Linked DNA regions of Homo sapiens: region 2 is linked to region 1. Evidence: promoter capture Hi-C in human tissues and cell types (Jung and others, 2019). All regions are on one chromosome and are shown on one strand. The core of a region is centred on a gene start or on the middle of the fragment in contact, and the rest is flanking DNA. Distances in the headings are between cores, read along the strand shown. Region 1 holds the start of GID8 (GID complex subunit 8 homolog). Region 2 overlaps DNAJC5 (DnaJ heat shock protein family (Hsp40) member C5).

Evidence for each region. Contacts are between HindIII fragments. The study calls those that stand out against the background at their distance.
Region 2: a fragment that was not itself captured here is called in contact with the fragment with the promoter of GID8 in region 1 in 1 of the 25 tissues and cell types used here (dorsolateral prefrontal cortex).

What each region holds. Positions count from the first base shown.
Region 1 is chr20:62,933,492-62,941,424 of GRCh38, forward strand. It overlaps GID8 (GID complex subunit 8 homolog), which reads left to right and starts at 4,656. Exons shown (of 5, transcript NM_017896.3): 1 at 4,656-4,762. It also overlaps a transcript of DIDO1 not described here. RefSeq lists silencers at 3,857-3,906, 4,177-4,226, 4,597-4,826, 4,897-5,026 and an enhancer at 4,722-5,390. The HindIII fragment of the contact is 10,021 bases long and covers 2,364-7,933 here.
Region 2 is chr20:63,902,397-63,910,329 of GRCh38, forward strand. All of the region lies in intron 1 of DNAJC5 (DnaJ heat shock protein family (Hsp40) member C5), which reads left to right. It also overlaps the pseudogene RNU1-134P. Among named protein-coding and RNA genes, the nearest start is that of DNAJC5, 11 kb to the left of the region's middle. The HindIII fragment of the contact is 9,611 bases long and covers 1-7,933 here.

The sequences.
Region 1 (7,933 bases), core at 3,406-5,905:
TTTGAGAGTAAAACAAAACATCCATGGGAATAATGTGGTTTTGAAACATGGCTGATATCCTGGTTTTTAAACATTCTATGATTTGAGTAAAGGAAGCACTCTATGCAGTGGTTCACACCTGTAATCCCAGCACTCTGGGAGGCTGAGGCAGGAAGACTGCTTGCACGCAGAAGTTTGAGAACAGCCTGGGCAACATAGTGAGACCTCTCCTCTACAAAAAATAAACAAAATTAGCTGGGTGTGGTGGCTTCCGCCTGTAGTCCCAGCTACTCAAGAGGCTAACATGGGAGGATTAGCTGGGAGGTGTAGGTTGCAGTGAGCCATTATCACACCATTGCACTCCAGCCTGGGCAAACTGCTCTCCCCTTTTTAAAAACTCATTAATGTTCTTTTAAGATTAATATACCTTTAGCACTCCTCTTTCTGTTCATCTCTTTCAATATGAAACAACTCAAGTTCAAAGCCACCACCTCAGCTTGCAAGACACTGGAAGCTCTGAACACCTGGTTGCCCCTCAGCTGACTGTAAGGGCCAAGCCTTTGGTTTCTCTCATCCACATGCCCACCTCTGTCATAGGAAAGCTCAGGCAGTTGATGAATCCAGCAGGCTGAAGTCCTTGTCACTGTCCCAGATGCCAACCCGTGTGGCCCTGCACCCTCTCCTGTCCCGGGACCCACCTACCTCTTTCCTGCTCTCCTGCACTCTTGGTGAGCCTCCATGCTGGTGGCTTCAGGGCTCTGGCCCAGGCTCTCCTCCTCTCCCTCCACCCATCCCTTCTCCACAGAGACTTCATGCACACCTGGCTGTAGTTGCCTTTATCTCTGCCTGGATCTGGGCACCATCATTCACCTGCTCCCCTGGCATCTCCACGTGAATGCCTCAAATGCACTTCAAAACCTACCTAACACATGCAAAATGAGCTTAGGACTTCTGACCTCCCTACTACATACTTCCAGGCTCTTCTCTGGCGTTCCCTATCCAGAGGATGGTCCCACCACCCTATAAATTCATAGGCCAGAAGCTGAGAAATTATCCTTGACCCCCCTCCCTGCTCCTCAGTCTCACCTGCTGCTGCAGCGTTTTGTGGCATCTAGCTCACTGCTCACTTCTCAGTACATAAGTGCATGGCCCTAATGGCTTCTGAACACCTTCAACATACTACGCTGTCTTCACCTCACCCCTGCTCACCACACTCCAATGTTTCCCATTCCCATCACATCTCTCAACTTCTTGCTCTCTCACCAAAAACCATCAAATGGGGAGTTTTGGCACCTTCACCCTGGACTTCCCTGCCGCCTGGAAACTGCTAACATAGCTTCTCGAAACTGGACACCCTGTGGCTTCAGGGAGCGCCTTTGAAGCCCCTGGTTCTTGTCAGACCCCCCGGCCACTTTCTTGCTACCCTTCATAGGCAGCTTCTTCCTTAGTGAATACAGCTTGCAGCTCTGCATTCTGGACTTGATCCACTCCTTGTCTCCATGGGCTTCCTCTGAATACTGTACCCATCAACTCTCAACTCTAGCCCTGCTCTTCCCCTTGAGCTTTAGATGTGTCCCACAGGCACCTCCAATTGAATGAGGCCCACGGTGAACTCACCACCTTTCCCTCGTTGTTGCACCTCCTTCTTCTTCATGATCATTCTCAGTTGGTGCCACCACCTCATCAGCTGGGCTACTCACCCGCATCACTCTGGTCTTCCTTCTTAGCTCCCACAAATTGTCAGTCACCAAGGACTGCTCATTTCCATCCTGACTGAAGGTCTCTTTCCATTTTTGCTAGTATTGCTTCCAGTTAAGATCCTCATAATCATTCACTCATTTATTCCTTCGTCACTCAACAAATAAATATTTATGGAGCTCCTATTACGATTTAGCCATAATCAACTCACATGAAGCTTACCATTTTATGCTGAATCATGACATCCCATCAGACAGCAACCACACGGACCGTGTGCTAAGAGCTACGAAGAGCTAAGTTAGGATTCTGTGCAAGCATAAAGGAAAGGCACTCAATCCAGCTTTGTTAGGGAAGACTTCCCCGAGAAAGCCACGTCTCTACTGAGGAGGTGAGCAGGAGTTAGCCTAGGGAAGGCTGTTAGCTAGGGCCCAGACTGAGAGCACAGCGATAACAAAGCTTGTTGACATGAGAAAACCTCCAATCAGCTGGGATGGCTGGAGCAGAGAGTAAGATCAGGAGTGCAGACTTATAGCTGCGCTAACTTTACACAGGCAACTGGGGAGTCCCCAAGGGATGTTAGAAGGATAGAGTCAATGAGTGATGGCTTTTGGAGAGATCACCCTGTCTGCTATGTGAGAGGTAGTGACAGGACTTCTGGAGCTCAACAGGAGTTACGGAGACATCCTGGCAATCCAAAAAGCAAAGATGATGGCTTCCACGTTATGGTGGAAGAGGCTGGGAAACAACACAAAGGAGCCAGTTTCTAGAGAGGATTAAGGAGGGGGCTCGAGCAGGACTTGGTAACCGGTTGGCTGTTGGGAGGAGGAGCATTAACCTGTGACCCACAGGCAGGCACTGAGACAGCCTCTTTGGACTGGAATGTTAAGGAATGTCGCCTTAAGGCGCTAGCACTCAAGCTTTCTGCTCGTGCATCCCCTTGCACACTTTCTCCTTGACGTTCAGGCTGGGCATGGTGGCTGACGCCTGTAAACCCAGCACTCCCAGAGGCCGAGGCGGGAGGATGGCTTGAGCCCAGGAGATCGAGACCAGCCTGGGCAAGAAGGCAAGACCCCGTCTCTAAAAAACTTTAAAAAATAAAAATAGGCCGGATGCGGTGGCTCATGACTGTAATCCGAGCACCTTGGGAGGCCGAGGTGGGTGATCATTTGAGGTCAGGAGTTCGAGACCAGCCTAGCCAACATGGTGAAACCCCACCCGTACTAAAAATACAAAATAAGTAGCCGGGCGTGGTGGCGGGTGCCTGTAGTTCCAGCTACTCGGGAGGCTGAGGCAGGAGAATCACTTGAACCCAGGAGGCGGAGGTTGCAGTGAGTCGAGATCATGACAGTGCACTCCAGCCTGGGCAACAAAGTGAGACTCCTTCTCAAAAAATAGAATAAAATAAAATCAAAATAGGCCGGGAGCGGTGGCTCACGCCTGTAATCCCAGCACTTTGGGAGTCCGAGGCGGGCGGATCACGAGGTCAAGACACTGAGACCAGCCTGACCAACAAGGGGAAACCCCGTCTCTACTAAAAATACAAAAATTAGCTGGGCGTGGTGGTGCGCCCCTGTGGTCCCAGCTACTCGGGAGGCTGAGGCAGGAGAATCGCTTGAACCCGGGAGGCGGAGGTTGCAGTGAGCCGAGATGGCGCCACTGCGCTCCAGCCTGGGCGAGAGTGAGACTTCGTCTCAAAATAAATAACTAAATAAAGACCAATAACTGTTTCCCATAGGGTTATGTAGTTGCAAATGAAAAAATTACTGGCATGTACTGCCTCTGCATATGAAGCATAATTTTGTCAAGACCTTATACCTGCAGATTTAGCTCTTTCGATTAACGGAAAATGTCCAAAATCAGTCTCCTCCAACCTATTTGCCGAACTGGACTTACTGTCGCTGAGTAGACCGACCGACATAGCTTACACGTTGTTCAGCTCGCTTGTAAGCAAACACACGAAACCACCTCACCCCTGACTTCAGAAAGAAGCCGTCCCGTGAATTCCTCACAGATGAAATCAGGAGCTGCCCCTCAAGGACTCTATTTCTTCCTTCGGCTCTATCAAATATTTTAAGGTACTTCCCAGCAACGGAAACATGGGACCCTGCAATGACAGACTTCGCATTCCTCCTGAGCGGACAGGCAATAAGCAAGTAAACGCGCAAATACCCAAGTGCGGCCTCAACCCGCGCTCCTGCCGGGAGGGTCTCCAGTCACCGAGTAACCCCGGCCCTGCCCCGCGCCGCCGCCGGGACTCCGCCCCGCAAGCAAGTGGGGTCTCCTTTGTCCCGCGCGCCCTGGCCGCGTCCCGCCCTTCGGCGTAGCCCATGGGAGGCGCCCTGAGGGCAGGGCCCTTCTGATTCCCCACCTGGCCTCGAGTGAGGACGCGCTCAACAACATCTCGAGTAAAGCGGGGGAACTCGCTTCAACGCGCAGACAGCACAGCTCTCGCCCAGCCCGGTCTCGGGTCAGCCGTCTCTCCCTGGACCTCAGGGACACTAGCCCTGGAAGGCCGCCGGTCGGGAGGGGACTCCCTCCCCGTCTGAGGGGCGGCCGCGGACACCCGGCGCCTTTCCCCCGCCCCACCCCGTGCGGCCTCACGCAAACGACAGGAAAAAAGCTGGGACCTTCGCCTCCGACTCAGTGTAGACGTCGCCATCCCGGTTCCAGATTTCCGCGCTCCAACGCCTCCGCAGCAGCCATCTTGCCAGAGGGCCGACGCCTTTTGACTCTGGCGCCAACCCGTAGTGCGTGGTCGCCGCGAGGGGAGTTCTGCGCAAGTACGGAAGCTGAGGTTCCGCGCTTCCGGGAGGCCGTCCGCCCCGCCCCCTCGCGGGGGCGCTTCATTGGTCATCGGCTCGCGCTCTCGCGCTCTCTTGCTGTCGCGAGAGGTGCTGAGGGGCGGCCTCCGGTGCGCCTGCCCTCCCGCTCCCCGCCCCCGCCCCCGCCCCCGCCTCCGCCGCGGCCCCCACCTCTGCCTCCTTCTACTCGGGCGCCCCGGCGGCCGCCACCTCTCCCCAGCCCAGGAGAGGCTGCGGAGCCGCAGCCGCCCAGACCGCGCAGCGCGGGAGGCAGGTTCCGCACGGTAAGATGGCGGCGGCGGGCCCGGGCGGCCGGGCCGAGCGTCTCCCGGGGCCGGGCCGGGCGGGCAGGCGGGATGTGGCCGGGGTGCGCGCCGCCCCCGCTCTGGGGGCCTTGGAAGCGCCGGCGCTGGCAGGTGCGGAATTGGGGCGCGCAGTGAGTCCAGGCCCGGACGGCCGCCCCGCGCCGGTGCCCAGGGGGCAGTCAGGGCTCAGCCTCCAGGCGCGCGGCCTCAGGCGCTGGTGTTCTGGGGCGGTCCCGGCCAGCCTGAGGGGCGGCGGTAGCTGTCTCTGTGGAGGAGCGACGTCCGTAACGAAGTCTTTTTAATAAAATCTGCTGCTTTAAAGCAGAAACCGAGCGGGTGAGGATGTAAAGTGTGGCATGGAAAGTAGGAGTCTTCAGCACACGGGTGTTTTCTTCTGCTGAATCTTTTTATGCTGGAGTTTGAGACTACCGAGTTCTTCCTGCTAACAGGACTGGCCAGTTCTACAAAGTTGTTGCTTTTCATGGGCGCACGTAACTGCCCGGAGTGGAAGCGCTGTGAGTGCCGATCACCGAATGGGCCGAGAGAAAAGGTGCCTTTTCCTAGGGAGCTCTTAACGTTGGTCCTAGGGCCGGGCGCGGTGGCGGAGGTCGAAGTGGGCGGATCACTTGAGCCCGCGAGTTCGAGACCAGCCGTGGCAACAGCGAGACTCCCTTCTCTGCTAAAAATAAAAAAATTAGCCAGGCAGAGTGGTGCGCTCCTGTTGTCCCAGTTACTCTGGAGGCTGAGGTGGGAGGATCGCTTGAGCCCAGGAGGTCGAGGCTGCGGTGAGCCATGATCGCGCCACTGCCCTCCAGCCTGGGCGACAGAGCGAGGCTCTGTCTCAAAAAAAAAAGAAAAAGAAAATGAGTCCTTAAGTTACCATTAATTGTCGTGAATAAAAAGTTGGTCTCAGTGAGTTTTGCAGTTGACAACGAAAGATGGGTGTTCGTGTGTGACAGCGACTCCTGGTTTCTCCTCCACTTTACCTGCCGCTCCACATCAAGTTTTCTTCTGCTGGTGCCACTTTCTCTGCTTTACCTTCAAGGTTGGCATCCTCCAAGTAATGGCGATTCTCATTCCCTATCTACGCTCTTCCTATGGTCTTTGCTGAATTCTTGGCTTTAAATATCCCTGTGCCCCAGCACCGCCCCCCCCGCCCCTTATTTCACTAATTCATGTTTTCAGCTCTGAGCTCAGGATCTGTAATTCAGACACCTGCTTGATTTCTCCAGACGCATGTCTAATAGTCACGTCAAACTTGCCCTGCTTCTCAAACCTGTTCTTCTTCCAGTCCTTCCTCCTTATTTGTGGCCCCATCTTGCAGGGCCTCTCATGCTTGAAACCTGTGACCATCTTCTATTCTTCCCTCTCTTTTGTCCGGTAATCTGTCTAGCAGCAGCCATTGACTCTGGCCAAAGCATCTTGATCTCACCTTGCTCTCCATCTCTTCTGCCGATGTTCTCTCTCGCTTGGGTGTCTCCCTAAGGGACTGGCTGCTCAGATCTCACCACCCTGCATTCATCCCATTTTCAGCCAAGAGACCAAAGTTTTTTAATTTATTGAAACACTTTAGCAGTACTTCGTATAAAGTAGTATGTGTAACGTATGTATCAGTGGCAAAAGAGAAAGACAGAGTGGACGGTGGCGTGCCCCTGCCTGTCTCAGGTATCCACCCATTCTCCCAAAGCCGGAACAGCTGCCTCTGGGGCTTCAGCCATTTGCCCCTCCCACAGGTAACCCCCTCCTGAGTGTCAGCTTTCATGCCCTTATTTAAAAAAAAACAAACAAAATAGGTTTGCCACGTACATATTTGTTGCTAAAGCACATGTCATGTATTTTGTCTTGTTGTTCCTGATAAAACTCACGGCAGATTTGGCCTCTCCTGCAACTCTCTTTTTCTTTTCTTTTTTTTCTTTTTTTTTTTTTTTGAGACGGAGTCTCGCTCTGTCGCCCAGGCTGGAGTGCAGTGGCACCATCTCGGCTCACTAGAAGCTCCACCTCCCGGGTTCACGCCATTCTCCTACCTCAGCCTCCCGAGTAGCTGGGATTACAGGCATCTGCCACCATGCCCGGCAAATTTTTTTTTTTTTTTTGAGACGGAGTCTTGTTCTGTCGCCCAGGCTGGAGTGCAGTGGCATGATCTCGGCTCACTGCAATCTCCGCCTCCCGGGTTCACGCCATTCTCCTGCCTCAGCCTCTGGAGTAGCTGGGACTACAGGCGCCCGCCACCGAGCACGGCTAATTTTTTGTATTTTTAGTAGAGACGGGGTTTCACCGTGTTAGCCAGGATGGTCTGGATCTCCTGACCTTGTGATCCGCCCGCCTCGGCCTCCCAAAGTGCTGGGATTACAGGCGTGAGCCACCGCGCCCGGCCGCAACTCTCTTTTTTCATTCAGCATTGTTTTATGAGAGTCATCCAGGTGACTTTGTGTCATGTTCATTTATTTTAACTGCTTTATGAAATTCTCTTGTGTGAATACATGACCACAGTCCCTTCTCAGCAATGCTAAAAATCTAAACATCTCTGAAACCACAGTTTTTGGTTTTGTTTTTAACCTATTTGGTGGCCAAAACCTCACCAGGTAAAGTTTAATAGCCTCTACCACTTAGTATAGATACCTAACACATTTCAGTGAAGAAATAACGTCTGATGATGGGGAGTGCCCCCAAACCCCAGTGAGGCTGTTACATGGTAAATTGTGCCAAATAATCGTTGTACATTGAAGAATTCTGAATTCCAAAACCCATCTGCCCAAGGGTTTTAAACATGCAGTTCTGTGCGCCACAGTCCCTTGGTCCACGCTGCTGTTGAATGAACGCTCAGGTGGGTGGCTTCCACATTCCTGCCGCTTTGAACGGTGCTTCTGTGAACAGCGTTGTCTGTGTTTGGTGCATCCTGGTGAGTTTTTCTAGAATATAAATGTATTAAAAGTAGAATTGCTGGGTTGTGAGGAGCACACATGTTCAGCTTTGTAAGGAGTACCAGATTGTTTTTGTAGCACAGTCCGTTCTCCTGATACCAGAGTAGAAAAAGTTGAAGTGAACTTATTCTTTGCTAAGCATTGGCATTCTCAGTCTGGTGGGTGTCCCACGGCAGCGTTGTCTTTCCGTACATGCTCAGTGTGGGATTCTCCGGCTCACAGCTCTTCC
Region 2 (7,933 bases), core at 2,344-4,843, 970 kb after region 1:
CTCTTGTTTCCCAGGCTGGTGGAGTGCAACGGTGTGATCTTGGCTCACCGCAACCTCTGCCTTCTGGGTTCAAGTGATTCTCCAGCCTCAGCCTCCTGAGTAGCTGGGATTACAGGCGTGTGCCACCACACCCAGCTAATTTTGTATTTTTAGTAGAGATGGGGTTTCTCCATGTTGGTCAGGCTGGTCTCGACCTCCCAACCTCAGGTGATCCACTCACCTCGGCCTCCCAAAGTGCTGGGATTACAGGCGTGAGCCAACGCACCTGGCCTCATCTTGTTTTTTTTTTTTTTTTTTGAGACAGAGTCTTGCTCTGTCGCCCAGGCTGGAGTGCAGTGACTCAGTCTCGGCTCACTGCAAGCTCTGCCACCTGGGTTCATGCCATTCTCCTGCCTCAGCCTCCCGAGTAGCTGGGACTACAGGCACCCGCCGCCACGCCCAGCTAATGTTTTTTGTATTTTTAGTAGAGACGGGATTTCATCGTGTTAGCCAGGATGGTCTCGATCTCCTGACCTCGTGATCTGCCCACCTCGGCCTCCCAAAGTGCTGGGATTAGAGGCGTGAGCCACCGCGCCCTGCCACATCCTGTTTTTTTTACAACAGGGTGTCACTCTGTCTCTCACCCAAGTTAGAGAGGAGTGACACAGTCTTAGCTCACTGCATTCTCCCAGGCCCAAGCAATCCTCCTATCTCAGCCTCCCAAGTAGCTGGGACTTTAGGTATGTGTCACCACAGTTGACTAATGTTTTAATTTTTGTAGAGATGGGGCCTCCACATGTTGCCCAGGTTGGCCTTCCTGGGCTCGATCCTCCTGCCTCAGCCTCCCAAGGTGGTGCATGCCTACAGTCTCAGTAGATTAGAATCACCCTAACCCTCAGTAACTGAGATTGTAGGCACGCACCACCTCACTGACTCACCTCAAACTCTCTTTTTTGAGATGGAGTCTCTGTCACCAGACTGGAGAGCAGTGGTGCGATCTTGGCACACTGCAACCTCCGCCTCCTGGGTTCAAGCGATTCTCCTGCCTCAGCCTCTGTAGCAGCTGGGACTACAGGCATGCGCCACTACGCCCGGCTGATTTTTGTATTTTTTAGTAGAGACGGGGTTTCACCATGTTGGCCAGGATGATCTCGATCTCTTGACCTCATGGTCTGCGCACCTTGGCCTCCCAAAGTGCTGGGATTACAGGTGTGAGCCACTGCGCTCGGCCCATCTCAAACTTTTAATAAGGCTCTTCGTATAGAAATTTTTAAAAAATTAAAAACATTTTTGGCCAGGCTTAGTGGTTTAAGCCTGTAATCCCAGTGCTTTGGGAGGCCAAGGCAAGCAGATTACATGAGGCCAGGAGTTTGAGACTAGCCTGGCCAACATGGCGAAACCACGTCTCTACTAAAAATACAAAAATTTGGGCAGGTGCAGTGGCTGACACCTGTAACCCCAACACTTTGGGAGGCTGAGGTGGATAGATCTCTCGAGTTCAGGAATTTGAGACCAGCCTGGGTAACATGAGGAAACCCCATCTCTGCAGAAAATACAAAAGTTAGCTGGGCGTGGTGGTGCATGCCTGTGGTCCCAGCTACTCGAGAGGCTGAGGTCAGGCTGAGGTGGGAGGATCCCTGGAGCCTGGGAAGCGGAGGTTGCAGTGGGGGATGAAAAAGAATACCCCGTGTCCAAATAGCAAAACACTCTGAAATGAGGCAAACCGTGGTTTGTTGAACAGGTGTTCTGGGACAAGGTTGCCGAATATGCATTAGCCGTAATCCCCAGGACAGCCATGCAGGGTGGGTCTTAAACAGTTTTTTAGATTCTCGAGTATAAAGGTATAATATTGAAGAATAAGCACAAATAATGTCATCATACATGTTAAAGTGACAACACAGGATTTACAAAATTACCCTTTTTTCCCCAAAATTACCTCTTACGATGTGGTTTCTGTTGGTGCTGTTTTCTCTTGCATCATCCCGCCAGGTTGGGTAACCCTAACTGATTGTCACCAGCAGACCAACAGACAGACTCACAGCATCCTTCTCCCTGGTGTGAGCACTGCTTAATTCACATTTATGAAAATACTTTAAGACAAGGGCACTGTAACTCACATAGAATCTGAAGTGGCCTTGAACAGGGAGCTGGTCCAGCTGCCTCTTAGTGTGTCTGACCTCCAGGTGGGCGGACTGAGATGCGTGCAGGTGTTCATGGTATAGGCATCCTTGTAAACCTGCTCTGGTTAAGGATAAATAGGCAAAGTTGTGCTAATGCTGTTCCTACAGCAGCCTTTGCCCTGGACTGACTCCAGAACAGCTGGCTGACTGACAGCTGCCTCCCAGTAAAGCCTTAAACAGGCTTATCTTATATTTTTAAAAGGCAAAGGACAATAAGGCAGATTAATAAACTGTGGGGGTTTTTTTGTTTGTTTTTGTTTTTCTTGAGACAAAGTCTCGCTGTTGTACCCCAGGCTGGAGTGCAACGGCGCGATCTCGGCTCACTGCAACCTCTGCCTCTCGGGTTCAAGCGATTCTCCTGCCTCAGCCTCCAGAGTAGCTGGGATTACAGGTGCCCGCCACCACGCCCGGCTAATTTTTGTATTTTTAGTCTAGACGGGGGTTTCACCATGTTGGCCAGGCTGGTCTCGAACTCCTGACATCAGGTGATCCGCCTGCCTCGGCCTCCCAAAGTGTCAGGATTATAGGGTGAGCCACCGTGCCTGGCTTTTTTTTTTTTTTCCTGTCTTTTGTGTATGTGATGGGGTCTCGCTCTTGTCGCCCAGGCTGGAGTGCCATGGCACGATCTCGGCTCACTGCAACCTCTGCTTCCCGGGTTCAAGTGACTCTCCTGCCTCAGCCTCCTGAGTAGCTGGAACTGCAGGTGTGCACCACCATGCCCGGCTAATTTTTGTATTTTTACTAGAGATGGGGTTTCACCATGTTGGCCAGGCCGATCTCGACCTCCTGACCTCAAGTGATTGACCCACCTCAGCCTTCCAAAGTACTGGGATTGCAGGTGTGAGCCACCACACCCGGGGCTGGATTTTTTTGTTTTAAGAGACAAGGTCTCACACTCTTGCCCAGGCTGGTTTACAGTGGTGCAGTCACTGCAGCCTTCACCTCTGGGCTCGAGTGATCCTCCCACCTCAGGTTACAGGTGTGAGCCACCACACATGACCGCACATGGCAGATTTTTTTTTTTTTTTTTTCACGGAGTCTGGCTCTTGTCACCCAGGCTGGAGTGCAATGATGTGATCTCAGCTCTCACTGCAACCTCCGCCTCCTGGGTTCAAGCAATTCTCCTGCCTCAGCCTCCCGAGTAGCTGGGATTATAGGGGCGTGCCACCCTGCCCAGCTAATTTTTTTTTTTTTCTGGAGACAAAGTCTTGCTCTGTCACCCAGACTGGAGTGCAATGGCACCATCTTGGCTCACTGCAACCTCCGCCTCCTGGGTTCAAGCGATTCTCCTGCCTCAGCCTCCCGAGTAGCTGGGATTACAGGCACGTGCCACCTCACCTGGCTAATTTTTATATTTTTAGTAGAGACGGGGTTTCACCATGTTGGCCAGGCTGGTCTTGAACTCACTGACCTCAGGTGATCCGCCTCAGCCTCCCAAAGTGCTGGGATTACAGGCGTGAGCCACTATGCCCGGCCCAGGATTTTTTTTTTAATTAAGGAAAATACTTTTTACATCTAAAATTCTACGCGACAATAATTAATGTGTCTTCAAGCTGAGAATTAATTAAAATATAGCCAATAAAACATGTATTAAGCTTTGTAAACTTTGTCTATATATGTACTTATTTTACTTTTATTTAAAAATATGGGGCCAGGCACGGTGGCTCACACCTGTAATCCCACCACTTCGGGAGGCCAAGACGGGTGGATCACTTGGGGTCAGGAGTTTGAGACCAGCCTGGCCAACATGGCGAAACCCCTTCCATCTCTACTAAAAATATGAAAATTAGCCAGGTGTGGTGCAGGCACCTGTAATTCCAGCTACTCAGGAGGCTGAGGCAGGACAATTGCTTAAACCCAGAAGGCGGAGGTTGCAGTGAGCCGACATTGCTCCACTGCACTCCAGCTTGAGCAATAGAAAGACTCTGTCTTAATAAATAAATTAATAGCCGAGCACGCTGGCTCACGCCTGTAATCCCAGCATTTTGGGAGGCCGAGACGGGCAGATCATGAGGTCAGGAGATCGAGACCATCCTGGCTAACACGATGAAACCCCGTCTCTACTAAAAATACAAAAAAAGCCGGGTGTGATGGTGGGCGCCTGTATATAGTCCCAGCTACTCGGGAGGCTGAGGCAGGAGAATGGCGTGAACCTGGGAGGTGGAGCTTGCAGTGAGCCGAGATCGCGCCACTGCACTCCAGCCTGGGTGAGTGATCGAGACTCTGTCTCAAAAAAAATTAATTAATTAATTAAAATATGACAGTGGCCTGGGTGCCATCGCTCGCACCTGTAATCCCAGCACATTGGGAGTCTAAGGTGGGAGGATCACTTGAGCTCAGGAGTTTGCCTAGCCTGGGCAACTTAGGGAGATCCTGCCTCTACAAAAAATAAAAAATTATCCAAGTGTGGTGGTTGCACACCTGTAGTCCCAACTACTTCGGAGGGTTGCAGGAGTCCAGGAGGTCAAGGCTGCCGTGAGGTGTGATTGAGCCACTGCACTCCTACCTGGGTGATATAGTGAGACTCTGTCTCTAAAATAAAATAAAATAAAATAAATGACAGTGGTCCATATAGTACCTTATTCAGAAAAGGCTTGATGTACAAGAAAATAAGTTATTTGTGATCAGGACAGAGAAGAATTACTGCCTTTTGTGAAATGGATGCTGAGAATCAGTTACGATGTACGGTGCTTGGGAGGCTGACTTTGATTTCAGTTACAGCCCTGCTGATCCTTAGCACGGTGACTGCAAATAGGTTACTCCACCTTCCTGAGTCTCAGTCTTCTTAGCCGAAAAGCACAGATCATCATCATAATAGCTAACATTAACTGTGTGCCTGGCATAGGGTCTGACCGCTTTATTCAAGCCAGCTCCCAGACATACCTTGCTGGACTGTTTAATGCCCATTCGACAAAGAGGAGATCGACATGGGGAGGTGTTGAGTAACTTGCCTGGCCACTGAGTCCCTGTCAATGGCAGCTCAGACAGGTGACCCCAGAGCTACCCTCCCACCCCCTGACCAGGCCCGTCTCACAGGCCTCTTAGGAAGGGCTCTGTTCAGTAGATGGCAGGCACGTGGTAAGTGTTTCCTAAGCTGCAGCTGCTGTGTAGATAAAACTCAAAGCAGATATCACAAGTTTTGTCAGATCATACTGTCTCAATTTTGAGGTGAATGCATGTGTTTTACTACTTAACTACCTCTGAAATTTAGGGGTTTTTTGTTTGTTTTGAGACGGAGTCTCGCTCTGTCGACAGGCTGGAGTGCAGTGGCGCGATCTCGGCTCATTGCATCCTCTGCCTCCCGGCTTCAAGTGATTCTCCTGTCTCAGCTTCCCCAGTAGCTGGGCCTACGGGCATGTGCACCATCACGCCTGGCTAATTTTTGTATTTTTAGTAGAGTCGGGGTTTCACCAGGTTGGCGAGGCTAGTCTCGAACTCCTGAGCTCGTGATCCCCCCACCTTGGCCTCCCGAAGTGCTGGGATTACAGGCGTGAGCCACTGCGCCTGGCCCTGAAATTTCGCATGTTTTACGGTTGGCTTGTTAGGGTTAAATTGGTGCACCTTATACTTGGTTGCATACTAGACTCACTGGAATGATTTGACTTTCGTCATAGTTGCAGAGGCACTCTGAAACCCTATGTATGTGCTTCACCAGGGACAGCCCCACGCATGGGAGGTGGTGGCCAGCCATCACCCCAGGGTGAATTTCTCTAAGAGCAGTCCTAGGCCAGGGGGTGAGTGTGGGAAAGTCAGGGCCGTTTCCATCAGTTAACGTTTCAGAGCGGGTTCCCGCTGGAAGTGCTGGAAATACCCAGATGCCATCTGTAGCATTTTATGAACTGTGGCGGATCCACTCTCTGTGTCTTGAGCTTCTGCTCTGTGGTCTGCTCAGTGGAAGCATCCTGTCAGTCCACTGTACAGTGGGGTGGAGCCGCAGCCAGGGTGGGTGTGCCGTTTGATTGGTCACGGAATGAACAGGGCAAAGGTCACTAAGTAGATATGATACTGCAAGTAGGATTGTGGTCATAGGTATTTTTATGAATTTGTGTTATGTGAAGTTGAGGATTTGAATGTTGTGATTATTATATCCAGATAAAGTTCTAGCCTGGCACAGTGCAGGCACGTGCCTGTGGTCCCAGCTGCTTGAAGTGGGAGGAGAGCTTCAGCTCAGGATTTCCAGGCTATAGGGAGCTGTGGTCCCACCATTGCACCCCAGCCTGGGTGACAGAGTGAGACCCCATCTCAAAAAGAAAAGAAAAGAGGCTAGGCGCAGTGGCTCAGGCCTGTAATTCAAGCACTTTGGGAGGCTGAGGCAGGCGGATCACTTGAAGTCTGGAGTTCGAGACCAGCCTGGCCAACATGGTGAAACCCCCCCATCTCTATTAAAAATACAAAAATCATACTTACCCGGCAGGGGAGATACCATGATCGCGAAGGTGGTTTTCCCAGGGCAAGGCTTAGCCATTGCACTCCGGATGTGCTGAGCCCTGCGTTTTCCCCAAATGTGGGAAACTTGACTGCGTAATTTGTGGTAGTGGAGGGACTGTGTTCACACTGTCCCCCCCGCCCAAAAAAATAAAAATACAAAAATCAGTCGGGCGTGGTGGCTCACGCCTGTCATCCCAGCACTTTGGGAAGCCGAGGTGGGTGGATCACCTGAGGTCAGGAGTTTGAGACCAGCCTGGCCAACATGGTGAAAATTGGGAGGCCGAGGCGGGCGGATCCCAAGGTCAGGAGATCGATACATCCTGGCTAACACAGTGAAACCCCGTCTCTACTAAAAATAAAAAAAAAAAAATTAGCCGGGCGTGGTGGCGGGCGCCTGTAGTCCCAGCTACTCGGGAGGCTGAGGCAGGAGAATGGCGTGAACCAGGGAGGCGGAGCTTGCAGTGAGCCGAGATGGCGCCACTGCACTGCAGCCTGGGCGACAGAGCGAGATTCCGTCTCAAAAACAACAACAAGAACAACAACAAAAAATTAGCCGGGAGCAGTGATGCGTGCCGTAGTCCCAGCTACTCTGGAGGCTGAGGCAGGAGAATCACTTGAGCCTGGGAGGCAGAGGCTGCAGTGAGCCGAGATTGTGCCACTGCACTCCAGCCTGGGCGACAGAGCAAGACTCCGTCTCAAAGAAAGAAAAAGAAAGAAAAAAGTCTTCCCCGTGAGAGTAGATTTCTACTGAATCGATTGCTGGTTTTATGCCTTTTCTTCCGTGATAGGAAGTATGTCCAGACTCATCTGGCTGGGGATCCTCAGGAGAGCCTGCGGGGGGCAGCAGAGGCCCGCCTGGGCCAGGGCGTGCACCAGACCAGAATCCTGCGGATTTAGTATTGTGAGGGTAGAAGACCAGCAAGCAGCATGACCTCGTGGTTACTGATCTTATGAAGAACACTTGTCTTTCATATTTGGGACTGTGTTAAGGTTTTCTGGAATATTTTTGGTTGTAGTAACGATTCTGCTTTAGGAGCTTTCTTCTCTAGTGTTGCACAGACCTGAGTGATTTGACCAGCAGTGCTGCGGTAACGGAAGACCACTCGTGTCTTCAGACTCGTTCTGTTCCTGGGGGTGCTTGCTTGTTCTAGGCCCCCTTTGTATGGAGAGGTTCAAACCTTGATTGAATAGTCGCTACCCAGGTGTCATAACCTGTGGCCTCATTGGTGTCACCTGGACTTTTTGTCTGCTGTTTGCACCATCGAAAGTGATGTGCGCTGGCCGGGCGCGGTGGCTCACGCCTGTGGTCCCAGCACTTTGGGAGGCGGGGGTGGGCAGATCACAAG